Regions from separate parts of the Homo sapiens genome. Here regions 2 and 3 are each linked to region 1. The links are contacts of gene promoters, found by promoter capture Hi-C in human tissues and cell types (Jung and others, 2019). All regions are on one chromosome and are shown on one strand. Each heading gives the region's core, a stretch centred on a gene start or on the middle of the fragment in contact. The rest is flanking DNA. Distances are from core to core; before and after follow the strand shown. Region 1 holds the start of BTBD16 (BTB domain containing 16). Region 2 overlaps BTBD16 (BTB domain containing 16). Region 3 overlaps TACC2 (transforming acidic coiled-coil containing protein 2).

The links. The method cuts DNA at HindIII sites, captures the fragments that hold promoters and counts their contacts. A contact is called where the count stands out against the background at its distance.
Region 2: a contact is called between a fragment that was not itself captured here and the fragment with the promoter of BTBD16 in region 1, in 1 of the 25 tissues and cell types used here (spleen).
Region 3: a contact is called between a fragment that was not itself captured here and the fragment with the promoter of BTBD16 in region 1, in 7 of the 25 tissues and cell types used here (IMR-90 fibroblasts, aorta, hippocampus and 4 more).

Annotation. Positions count from the first base shown.
Region 1 is chr10:122,270,046-122,274,217 of GRCh38, forward strand. BTBD16 (BTB domain containing 16) reads left to right here and starts at 1,251. Exons shown (of 16, transcript NM_144587.5): 1 at 1,251-1,469. The HindIII fragment of the contact is 10,681 bases long and covers 1-4,172 here.
Region 2 is chr10:122,303,053-122,307,569 of GRCh38, forward strand. BTBD16 (BTB domain containing 16) reads left to right here. Exons shown (of 16, transcript NM_144587.5): 10 at 4,137-4,256. Among named protein-coding and RNA genes, the nearest start is that of BTBD16, 34 kb to the left of the region's middle. The HindIII fragment of the contact is 8,257 bases long and covers 1-4,517 here.
Region 3 is chr10:122,234,025-122,238,718 of GRCh38, forward strand. It overlaps TACC2 (transforming acidic coiled-coil containing protein 2), which reads left to right. Exons shown (of 23, transcript NM_206862.4): 17 at 3,371-3,514; 18 at 3,937-4,013. Among named protein-coding and RNA genes, the nearest start is that of BTBD16, 35 kb to the right of the region's middle. The HindIII fragment of the contact is 8,813 bases long and covers 1-4,694 here.

The sequences.
Region 1 (4,172 bases), core at 1-2,500:
CACAGAACATTCCACAGCGATCGGCTTCTGTGCAAAGCAGAATATGGTGTTGGGAGGAGTAGAATCACAGGATTTGAGGGCTGAGGCGGGAGACAAATTCAGGGGTACCTCCCATTTATAGAGTGTTTCGTAGTTTCTAGATCACAGCCACAGGAGGCAGCGCAGCTACTTTCCCGTTTTACTTTAGGATGTATGTGGCCTAGGAGAGGCTGGCCTTGGGTCTTAAAAGCTGTACTGCCTCCTGGTTCCTATTACTGTAACTAGGGATTTCTGTGATCCCTGGGGTGGTGGTCCAGGCCTTTGATGGACCCGTGGTGACCCATGTGACTCTGACCCACATGGCCTCCACCTCCCCATCCCCTAGTTTGGGTCATGGGCTTCACAGGCCACGTCGCTGAGGACACTGTAAGATTGCACTTAGGGCCAGGTGCGGTGGCTCACACCTGTAATCTCAGCACTTTGGGAGGCCGAGGTGGGCAGATCACCTGAGGTCAGGAGTTCGAGACCAGCCTGGCTAATATGGTGAAACCCTGTCTCTACTAAAAATACAAAAATTAGGCCGGTGTGGTGGCGGGCACCTGTGATCCCAGCTATTCAGGAGGCTGAGGCACAAGAATTGCTTGAACCCGGTGAACCTAGGAGGCGGAGGTTGCAGTGAGTCAAGATCACACCACTGCACTCCAGCCTGGGCGATAGAGTGAGACTCCATCTCAGAGAAAAAAAAAAAGCAAAACAAAACAAACAAATCCCAAACATTTCCACTCTGGATGCCAGCTTGAAGGCTCTTGGTCTTGTCCTTGACTTTTAGGCAGTCCTTAGCTCCCAGAGAGAGCAGCATTAAAAATCATCATCAGCAAAGTACTTCATTAGGCATAGCTTTTAATAATGCGGAATGCTCAATTTTTATTGAAATATGTTTGTCAAAACACAGATAGAAAATGCTAGAAATAGAGCACCCCAGAATGCCAGAGCTGGGAGGCATCTGAGAAGCTTCTAGTCTAATCTTCTCCTTTGACAGATGAAGCCTGAAGATTTGGGGGTTGGTTCTCACTGAGGCTGTGCCCTGGGTTGCCCCAGGTGCTGTGAGGAACAGGAATGGAGGCACATGGCACCCACACTGGTCTCTGAGATGCCATCACTCACAGCTTCTCCCCATCAGCCAGGGCCTTGGACACAGCCCGAGCCTGAGTTGAAACCTGGCCCTGGAACAGGAAGTGCTTGGAAGCTTCCCTGCCGTTGCCGTGGTGCTCACAACCACCCAGGAAACCAAGGCAAGCTCCCCCTGTCAAAGCACCTTGGCCCATAAGAAGAAAAGGGGGAGCCCCAGATGTGATGAGCGCTTCCAGGCTTCAGGCTCAGAAGGCGCCCCCAGCTCTCCTGTAACTCAGAGGCCAGTGTGATGGGAGTTCCTCCACTCAGCACACTTCCCCTGTAAACACGCCTGTGGTGGGCAAAAGGGCTTTGGAACGGTAAGTACAATGGGTATTTTTCAGCCACTTCAGAGACCAAGAAATGTGTCCTAGTGACAGGTGCTGTCTTAGCACCTGTCTAGACCCAGTGTTAGACTTGGGTGCCTCTGGTCTACTTGGCAGGGAGGGAGTTTAGGGAATCAGGAGGGGTCTGGGAGCTGAGAGACCATTGTAGGTAGCTCCTGCCCGCCCACAGGGACCTTGGCACAGGCTCTCAAAACACACGAAGGGGCAGATTGCCTGGTGGGATGAAAAAAGAACACATTTCCAGGCCATTGAGATGTCTCTGGATTTCAAGATCAGCTAAAAAAGTTCTTAGATATTGATCTAAGAAAGCAGGAGCTTTGGGTAGCTGAGTGCAAACCCCAGCCTCCCTCTCTCTGTAACTGAAGCGGTGCTCTGTGGGCATAGCGAGTCCCGTGTGGGGTTTATTCTGTGCTGACCAGGTCTGCTTTAGAATGGAACCCTCTTCTCTCTTCTCAGATTCCTTAAGGCCACGTTGAGGATTTGGGGGTCTATGTCTAGGGCAGTGGGAAGCTGGTGAAGGGCTTTAAGCTGAGGAGTTCATCATCCTGGCTCCTGTGAGGTAAAGGGATCAGAAAAGCATGTATGTGTTACCTGAGGTGGGAGAAGCCTCACGCAAGGTGGAAACTCAGCCATCAAGGAAAACACACATTGCTGTAAACTCAAGTGCACCTCTGAAAGCTGGTTGAACAGCCAAAGATGCTCTTAACACACATGCATACATGGATGCAATTGCAGATGAAGACACCAGCAGCTGGGTACAAACACCAGGGCCATGTTTGTACCCAGACACGTTTCTTTTTCTTTTTTCTTTCCCCTCGAGACAGAGTTTCGCTCTTGTTTCCCAGGCTGGAGTGCAATGGTGAGAGTTTGGCTCACTGCAACCTCCACCTCCAGAGTTCAAGTGACTGTCCTGCCTCAGCCTCCCAAGTAGCTGGGATTACAGGCATGCGCCACCACACCCAGCTAATTTTGTATTTTTAGTAGAGACAAGGTTTCATCATATTGGTTAGGCTGGTCTTGAACTCCTGACCTCAGGTGATCCACCTGCCTTGGCCTCCCAAAGTGCTGGGATTACAGGCATGAGCCACTGGGCCTGGCCCCAGATATGTTTTCAAATTAGAGACTGGCAAAGGAAATACACACACACACACACACACACACACACAGGACATATTTTCATACTAATGAAACAATTTGTTTACCATAAACAAAGTCAAAAGACAAATGATACACTTCTGCAGCATGTATGGCAGACAAAATGTTAGTGTCCCCAGTACATAGAGGGCTCCTTAAAAAATGCTAGTGAGACTACAGTAACCCAGTAGAAAATTGCGGAAAACCTATGATTAGGCAGTTTTCAGAAAAGAAAAATTAAACAGCCAATAAATAGATAAAAGAATGCTCAACCCCACTGGTAGCCAGGAAAGTTCAAATTAAAGTAAGAATCTGAAACCATCTGACACTCACCAGCTTGGCAAAAATAAATACGATGATACTACCTAGTACTAAAGATGTTGTGAAAAAAATGACAACACTTATAAATTGGTGATAGGAATGTTAATTGCTGCAATTTTGGGGCAAGTGAATTGGTATTAACTATTTCAATTGAAGATACAGATCTCTGACATAACTATACCACTTGGAAGACTATTTCATAGAAATAAAAACAGCAACACAAAGATATATATATATATATATATATATACACACATACATACATATATATACAGATGCAGATATAGGTAACATGTATAGATATATGTATACACACATGTACACAAACTGCCATAATAATGTGTATGCATATTGTTCCCATTGTTTTTATTATGGGAATAAAATATAGGAAATAACCTCAATGACTTGGCAGAGGAATATTTTAATAAATAATGATGCATTCACTGTATGAAATATTATGCGGCCAGAAACAGTGTCTCATGCCCATAATCCTGGCACTTTGGGAGGCCAAGGCAGGAGGATTGCTTGATATCAGGAGTTCAAGACCAGTCTGGGCAATATAGATCAGTCTGGGCAACCCTGGCTCTAGAAAAATTAAAAAATTAGCCAGGTGTGGTAGCGGACACCTGTAGTCCCAGCTACTGGGGAGGCTGAAGTGGGAGGATCACTTGAGCCCAGAAGATTGAGGCTGCAGTGAGCCTTTATCACACCACTGCACTCCAGCCTGGGCAACAGAGCAAGACCCTGTCTCAAAAAAAGAAAAAGTGATATTATGCAGCTATGTTAAATTTTTCTTTCCTGTCATTGTATTGGTTCACTAGTTACAACAAGCATATATTATTAATACTTTTGCAATTAAAAAGTCCAATTAAGGCAATTAAAAGGCAAAGAAAAACCTGTCTGCCCAAGTGGAATGGAAATTCTATGAGGCAAGGATCGTGTGCATTTTGCTCACTGCTGTCTCTCAGAAACGGCTAACGCCTCTCTCCATATGGCGACTGCACAGGAGATGCTTGTTGGTGAATGGATGAACATAGCCATGGCTGTGATGCAGGTGAAGTGCTGTTTGGGGAGCAAAGGGAGGTCAGCTGAGGTTCTTGGTCATCAAGTGCCGTGGCTTCTGCTGGTTTCACCAGCTCACCCACTTCTCCTCTTCTCTGATGTTGCTCTGGGGAACTACCCAGTCCCCAGTGCACGTTCTTGTTGGGAGAATTAGTCAAG
Region 2 (4,517 bases), core at 240-2,739, 33 kb after region 1:
TTTCTGAAAAAAAAGTATAAAGGTAGAATTATAATACAAAACACAATTGTACTCATCTCCCCAAATGAACGAATATTAATATTTTGTCTTAAATTGAGAAATCAAACATTTCCAATGAAGCAGAAGTCGCCTATGTTTCCCTCCCAGTCCCATTCCCTTCCTCATTTCTGCCTCCTTCCCCTCCTAAAGACAATTAAACCACTGTTAGGAACTTGTGCAGATTTAATCTATGTAATTTTACTCTTACCACATGAATAATATTGCTTTAAAAGATTTAAACTTGAAATACATGTTCTCATCGTGATTGTAACGTTCTGCAACTTATTCACTTACATCGTGTGTTGTGTTCTCTCCATGTTGATATTTGCATATCTAATGAGCATTTAAAATTTTAATTGTAAAGGGTTCTATTGAATGAATGCACAACGATCTCTTTTCACTCCCTTCCTAATGGCCTTTTGTTTTGTTTTGTTTTGTTTGTTTGCTGTGACAAGCGATGGAGCAGTGGGCATCCTTGTTCATATCTTACTCACATGGTCATGGCTTTCTCTATGGTCTACATACGAAAGAGGACTTTTATTGTTTATATATAATTTTCTCAGTGAAAAATAGAGGACAGTGTCTTATGAAAAGCATTTTTTTCCCCTAAAGAACAATTACCATTTACATTCCAATGGCTGCTAGCGAGTGCCAGTAAACACACATGGTACAGCCCATAGAGGGAGGTTCAAGTCCCTGTGGGTTCTGTCTTGATTGAGGCCATCAGAGCTCTTAGGTAAATGAAAAGGTGTGTGAATGTCTTTGGTGTGGTTATCTGTTGCACAAACGAATACTTTCAGGTCTGATATTGACCTAAAGACAGAGGAATTTACTTTAATAATTATGCTTCATAAATAATAGAACCAGGATTCTGATTCGTGGAGCTCCCAAGGACTCCCCCATGTTGCTGCTAGCCCCTCTTTAGTGAGACCTCAAAGGGCCTTCTGGGCTTGAGGACCTCAGGTGTGGAGTCTACACTGGAAATCACACCACTTCGCCAGCCCAGCTGACAAAGTTCTTCACAGGGACATCATACCAAGTGCTCTGAGGAGAGTCTCCCCTTCCGGCCTCACGATGATTGCCAGATGGTGACAAACTTGGTCCTGTCTGGCCAGAGTCAAAGTCCATGCATTTGTAGGTGGCCTGAAAACCAAAGGAGAGGAAAGAGACAGTTTTACTCTGTTCAGAAATAGCATGAGAGGTGGGTGACATTTTCATTGTCCTTTAGAGTCACGGTTTGTCTTTGGTGCCACCCACCATAACCACATAGAGTGGTTGAATGTGGAAGCGGTGATGTATTTTAAGGCCAGGGTGCAATGTCCATGGTCAGAGACTGAAAATGTCAACGGGTTTAAGAAATGTTGAAATGGCTCCATAGATAACCATCAGAGGCTACTAGAGAAGGGGGTTGGGAGATAGCCACACTTACAGAGCTGACATTACGGGGTAGCAGGTATTCTTTTTTTTTTTTTTTTTTTTTTGAGACAGAGTCTCCCTATGTCGCCCAGGCTGGAGTGCAGTGGCGTGATCTCTGCTCACTGCAAGCTCTGCCTCCCAGGTTCACGCCATTCTCCTGCCTCAGCCTCCTGAGTAGCTGGGACTCAGGCGCCTGCCACCATGCCCGGATAATTTTTTGTATTTTTAGTAGAGACGGGGTTTCATCATGTTAGCCAAGATGGTCTTGATCTCCTGACCTCGTGATCTGCCCGCCTCGGCCTCCCAAAGTGCTGGGATTACAGGTGTGAGCCACTGCGCCTGGCCAGCAGCTATTCTTTGGCAATGCTCATTTATGGAGGAGAGGCCTCATGCTGCAGCAGGTACTGCACAGGCTCTGGAGCTAGGACCTGACCCTGCCACATATCCATAAGAGCTTCCATCCGCTGAGCATGTCATGATGTGCCAGGCACTGTACTAAGCACTTTGTATGTATGCAGTCAGTAGAATGATGGCCCCACAGATGTCCACATCTCACTGGCTGGAACCTGTGAATATGTTGGGTTGTATGGCAAAGGAAACTAAGGCTGCAGATGGAACTAAGGTCAGTAATCAGCTGATTCTTTTCTTTCTTTCCAACTTTCATTTTAGGTTCAGGGGTACATGTGCAGGTTGTACATGAGTAAATTGCATGTCACAGGGATTTGGTGTACAGATAATTTTGTCACCCAGGTGATCAGTATAATATCCTTGATATAGTTTAGATGTGTGTCCCCACCAAATCTCACATTGAATTGTAATCCCCAGTGTTGGAGATGGGACCTGGTGAGAGGTGATTGGATCATGGTGGTGGATTTCTCACTAATGGCTTAGCACCATCCTCTTGGTGCTGTTCTCCTGATAGTGAGTGAGTTCCCTTGAGATCTGGTCATTTCAAAGGGTGTGGCACCTCCTGCCTTGCTCTCTCCTGCTCTTGCTCTGGCTGTGTGACATCCTCCTCCCCCTTTACCTTCTGCCAAGATGGTAAGTTTCCTGAGGCCTCTCCAGAAGCCAAGCAGATGCCAGCATCATGCTTCCTGTACAGCCCATGGAACTGTGAGTCAAGTAAACCTCTTTTCTTTACAAATTACCCAGTCTCAGATATTTCTTTGTAGCAATTCAACAACAGAACAGTACAACCCTATACATAGTTTTTCAATCCTCGCCCTCTTCCTACCCACCACCATCAGGTAGGCCCTGTGTCTATTGTTCCCTTAATGGTGTCCATGTGTACTCAATGTTTAAGCTCCCACTGACAAGTGAGAACATGCAGTATTTAGTTTTCTATTCCTGTGTCAATTTGCTTAGGATAATGGCCTCCAGCTCTACCCATGTTGCTGCAAATGACATGCCTTCACTCTTTTTCATGGCTGTATAGTATTTTATGGTGTATATGTACCATGGTTTCTTTACCCAGTCCACCACTGATGGGCACCTAGGTTGATTCCATGTCTTTGCTATTGTGAATAGTGTCCGCGGGCTTTAAAATGAGGAGCTTATTCTAGATGACCTGGGTGGGCCCATGGTGATCACAAGGACCTTGTAAATGTGAAGAGGGAAGCCAAAGAGTCAGAACCATAGAGAGATTTGAAGATGCTGAACTGCTGACTTGAAGACTGAGAAAAGGGCCATAAGCAAAGGAATGTGGGTGGCTTCTAGGTGCTGGAAAAGGCAAGGAAACAATTCTCCCTTGAGCCTCTAGAAGGAACACAGCTCTGCTGACAACTTGATCTTACCTTGTTTGGTACTTCTGACCTCCAGAATGATGAGAAAATAAATTCGTGTTGTTTCGAACCACTTGGTTTGTGACAATTTGTTATTGGAGCGATAGGAAACTCATCCACTCACCTCATCCACTCTGTACCACTCTCCTCTGAGCAGCTGCTGTGATCACACTTTCACAGATGAGGACATTGCAGCTGCGGGGCAGTTAAGCAACTCACAGGAGGTTCCACAGCCAGTCTGGTGAGGAACTGAGATTCTAACCTGCCCTATACCCAGGTCTGAGCCCAGAATTGTGTGACCTTGGATAAGTTATTCAGGTTTCAGCCCTCAATCATGGCCAGAGCTAAGGTGAAGTGAGTGAGGCACCTTGGTGCGAAATTTAAGGGAGCATGAAAAAACTTAGTCATCGAGATGCAGTCTATTTTAGTGTAATATATTAGAATTAAAATTGATGCCAAAAAATGCCATGATGAACAAAACACTAAAATTTTAAATAAATGTAGGGTTAATCTCAATTTCTACATCTATAAAAGTAAGGACTATATCCTAACTTTGCAGGATGGTTGTGTGGAATTAAATGAAAAAATCTACAGAAAACATCTTGGGAACACCTGGCACATAGTAAGAGCTCATTAAATGACGATCATTGTTTTGCGGGGCACAGAGGGTGGGTGAAAACACAGGCCCTAGTGTCAGGCTGCTGAGATTCAAATCCTAGCTCTGCCATTTCCCAGTTGAGTGGCCTTGAGTAAGCTGTTTACCTGCTTGATGTCTGAGGCTACCTTCAGACTCAAATGTGGTGTCACCTCATTCCCAAACTCATTCTAACCAGCTTCTTACAAGCAGCGTGATTTTGTGCTATTTCTGAAATTTCTTCTCAATCTTTTTATTTTGGCCAGGTTATTTACCTTTAGTGAATTCCATCTTCTGAAAACAATGCTTTTGTGGGTCTTCTTGCAACTGAACTACAAGATTCAGGCAATTCCGACTTATGAAACCGTGATGACATTTTTTAAGAGGTAATATAACTTAGTGTTGATTGATGAAATACACAAATACTGAAATGTACAAACACTGCTCATAATATCACGGGGGAAAACCATCAGTGATATAATTTTTCATAGCATCATTCAGAGGGCACTGTTTTTTTAATAGGGCCTAAGATTATAGGATGCTTTCAAACCACCAAATTACCTGGAAAAGTAAACAACATGTAGGTGTTGTACTATGAGATAATCAGGTGCTTCTGGGAACTTGCTGTGTCCAGTAACAGGCATGAG
Region 3 (4,694 bases), core at 1,918-4,417, 34 kb before region 1:
GTGGCTGTCATCTCCCTAGCTCATCCTGACTCCTGGCCTCACCCCTCCGTGGCCCCTCTGGCATGGCTCTCCCAGCCTCGGATGGCAGGTGCTCTCCCCAGAATTGGCCTCTCTCTGCTCCAGGGGACAGGGATCCTGCCACAGTGCTAGCCCCTCCCCTCCATGTCTGGCAGCAGGGAACTGTCGACAAGGGGGCTACGATGCCACCCCCAGCTGCCAGCAGGAAGGACCCCAGGCACAGCCTGCAGGTCTGAAGTGGGTGACAGTGGCCAGAGGTTCTCACAGGTCGCAGGACTTCAGTGGAGTGAAGGTTGGAAATTGGTTACAAAGGCCATGCCTTCTGCGTCACAGCCATTTCACATTTCAATTTGTGATTCTAGTGGCTTTTTTTGGCCCCTCTAAAGTAGCAAGTGGGGGTTATGTGAGAGAAACAAAGCTTAATCTAAAAATGTCTGATCTTAAAATATCAGCGACAGACAAAGCTATCAATTTCTGTTAAAAACAATTCTTGGTTGTAAGGGGAAACCAGAGTGTACACAATGCATTTCATCAACATGCAGATACTCAGGCAGTAATTCAAGAGGGCTCTGAAGTCATCTGTTCCTTTATTGAAAACTCCAGGTGGCCGGGATGAAGGGGTCAGTGAACAGTCTACATGGTAGTGTCCATTTGAATTTTCTTAGAAACCCCATTATTTTACTTATTTTTTTTCATTCCCTTTCTTGTTTTACAAAGGATTTTAGGCAGCATAAAGATAATTAATTCCTTCATTAGTCATATTTAGTTTCTGCCCACTATGATAAAGTTAGTTTTAATTAAATCAATTTTCTCCTGCGCTGCAGGGAGCCTGCTTATTTTGATCAGAATTGAATCTCATTCTGGGAAACCTTGTGCCCCAGTCTCTGAGATTCTCCATTTTATTCATCTTCAGAAGGTCCACGCTGAGTTTGATGGTGACTAATGTTGTTTTCATTTTGAAATTTTATTGCTCATTAAAAAAAACACACACATTTGTTGACTTTAAAAGTGAATAGTTTTTGTTTTTCCTTTTAAAATCCTTTGCCTTTTTAAAATTTTTTTAAGACAGAGTCTCACTCTGTCACCCAGGCTGGAGTGCAGTGGCGCGATCTCAGCTCACTGCAACCTTTGCCTCCTGGGTTTCAAGCGATTCTCGTGCCTCAGCCTCCCCAGTAGCTGGGATTACAGGCATGCACCACCACACCTGGCTAGTTTTTGTATTTTTAGTAGAGACAGGGTTTTGCCATGTTGGCCAGGCTGGTCTTGAACTCCTGGCCTCAAGTGATCCACCTGCCTCAGCCTCCCAAAGTGTTTGGATTACAGGTGTGAGCCACTGCAACCGGCCCCCAATTTTTTTTTATTAAAAATTTTTCTAGAGATGAGATCTCACAATGTTACCCAGGCTGTTCTCAAGCTCCTGGCCTCAAGGGATCCTCCCACCTCAGCCTCCCAAAGTGTTGGGATTACAGGTGTGAGTGAGCCACCGCACACGGCCCAGAATTTTTTTCAGAATTGTGTGTTTATGAACTTTCTCCATAAGGACAAATATTGAGTCTTGATCTCTGTGTCATTTTTCAGCTACTTCCTGAGAAGTTCCCCCATGACAAGCAGAACTGTGAAACCCATTTTCCAATAGCAGAGATGAACCCCTGCATGTGAGGCTCCGGCCCTGCGGCTTGGTGGTGCCCTTGCTTCTGGGAGGTCAGCCTGCCTCTGCTGAGGGCTATTAGTATATATTCTGGTCAAGCGTCCTTAAAACGGGGACTTCTTGAGGGCCTGAGCCTGCCCTGTTCTCACATGAGCGAGTCTCTGGGGTCTGCTTGAAGGGGACTGTGTACTTCCATCTCTGGCCAGTGGATCATTTGGGTCCTGCTTCAGGGTCACCCCAAGTATGCAAGGCCAGGCAGGGGCCAAGAAACCCAGGCAACAGACGTTCAATCTTCCAGGACAACCGAAACTATATAGTTTCACCCTGCATGTATACAGCTAACTAACCGGTCCTAACTCAGTCATCTCCGGTCCTATCCATTAAACTTCTTGAGTTTTCCAAGCTGTCTCCCTTCTCGGGTTCATTTTCCCTGATGCTGTCGTAGGGTAGGCACGCCTGTTCTGGTGGTGGAAGAGACAAATTCTGCACAGGTACCTTTAGGTCCTCCCCCTTCCCAGTTAATGTTGGCTCTTTAATCTTACCTGCTGTCCTTGATAAGCCCTCATTATTCTTTCCCCAAATCTCTCTCTCTCTACTACACTGTGGTAGCCTTCCACCATTCAATTTCTTCTCATAATTTCCCAAGGGAAGAAGCAGCCTACTCTGCCTGTTAGAGCACTCTAGTATTGATAACTAGGGTAGAGGTTCGCTGGGCAGCCATGACAGCGCCACGAGGTTAATGCATAGGACTGAGAGTGTGGTTGGTTTGATGTTTCTTTTGCAGTAGAAGTAGACTGACAACCCGGCTGTGCTGGTCAGTGATGCTGCTAACACCGCATTTCAACTGTGTTGCAAATTGCCGAGCATTTTGTGCAAAGGGAAAAAGAATAACCACAGATTCCTCCTCCTCACCTGTGGGAGGCCAGTATCTGTCCTCCACAAAAGGCTGTAAAGCCTCAACCAACATCAGTTGGGTGGGTTGGGGTGGTGGATCATGCCACTTGTTCAGGGTCTAATCAGCAGATGTGGATATTGTCATTGACCCAGTTTTTAATTTTCCCATTAACGTAACAGACTTCATGGCAACAGAACTCTTACATAACTCTAACATAACTCCAACATAACTCTTACATCCAGAGACTCTACCTAGCCAAAGGTGATATTGGTTGACAACTACAGTAGGCTTTAAGCTTTGCGTGACTCACATCCTTTCAAACAGAGCTAAACAAATGCCCCCAAAATGGAAATGTAAACAGTCTTACAAAAGTGATCAAATCTGTGGTTATTCAAAACTAGGAAAACATAGACTAGAATTCAACATTATTCACCATTGAGATCTCATTTTGGAAGTGGAGGCTGCTGAATAGTGCCCTGGGTTCTCAGGCGCTGTGCCTAAGTGGCTCAGTGAGTGATAAATGGCAGAGATAAGCAGGTACCAGACATGCTGGACTCCAAGGCCTCGGAGCTTAAGGGGCCTCTGCCATTAGCCCCTTTGTCTGCCTGCCCAGGTGCAGAATGATAGATCTCCATCCATAGACTGGACTCGGCATTTCCCTGTTCATCAGTCTTTGCACTTTCTCATACTTTTGATGTTCTTTGTTTCAAAACCATACAATTGGCCCATTCATGAGAGGGTGAGTGTAATCCTCTTTGTCGTATGATTAATGCTAACTGTTTTTTTTTTAATTAAAAACGATTCCACAGAGAGAGGCTGCTCACCCAACAGACGTCTCCATCTCCAAAACAGCCTTGTACTCCCGCATCGGGACCGCTGAGGTGGAGAAACCTGCAGGCCTTCTGTTCCAGCAGCCCGACCTGGACTCTGCCCTCCAGATCGCCAGAGCAGAGGTATCGTGGCATGTGGTGTAATTACCCTCTTCCTGCCACTTATAAATACGTATGCTCGTGGTCCACAAAGCCAGAGTCTTTGGAGACAGACTTTGTCCTCTGAACGCTGCAGGCAAAGATGTGTGGCACACCATGCGTTTTGATCTTCCTAGACGCTATCGTGTAATGGGCCTTTTGGCCTTGTTGAATTTACAACAAAAAGCATGCCCCTTTCAGTTGCTCCCCAGTGGGCACTGTGAAAGTCTGATATCTGGCTGCTTTCTTTTTTATGCTCGGGGAAGTTCTCTGAATGTAATTATGGTTTGTTGTAGGAAGTTTTCATTCCACATTTATTCACCGTCTCCTTTTCTTGATCTATGAATTGCTCAGAGCTGAATTCACTCATTTGGGGCTAACCTTTCTCTTCTTCTCTCTGAAACTAGATCATAACCAAGGAGAGAGAGGTCTCAGAATGGAAAGATAAATATGAAGAAAGCAGGCGGGAAGTGATGGAAATGAGGTCAGTTGGGGAGCTGGGCCTTCCTCGTGCCTGAGGGATACTTACCTGTGGTTTAATAATGACCGGAGCTGGTGTGGTCCACAGAAGAGTGTCTTCTGTGGAAGTTCTCTCTTCTTTATTACACACAGTTCATATTTTTCTAAAAGTATTTTTACTCTATTACTATTACTAAAATAGCATGCACATGAATTAAAGAATGCATTCAAATAAATGTATGTACAATGCAAAACAGATCTCCCCACTCAGCCTCCAGTTCCACAACTCGCAGGTGACTATCTTCTGTTTCTGGTGGATCCTTCCAAGAATTTTCCATTTCTCATCACAAATGTAACAATGAGTGTAAACAGCCTCTTTTTTCTCCAAAATAAATGAGAGCTTGCAGTATACATCATTCTACACTCTTTTTAATTAATTAATTTATTTTTTTGAAACAGAGTTTCGCTCTTGTTGCCCAGGCTGGAGTGCAGTGGCGCCACCTCGGCTCACTGCAACCTCCAACTCTGCCAGGTTCAAGTGATTCTCCTGCCTCAGCCACCCAAGTAACTGGGATTACAGGCGCCTGCCACCATGGCTGGCTAATTTTTTGTATTTTTAGTAGAGTCAGGGTTTCACCATGTTGGCCAGGCTGGTCTCAAACTCCTGACCTCAGATGATCCACCCGCCTCGGCCTCCCAAAGTGCT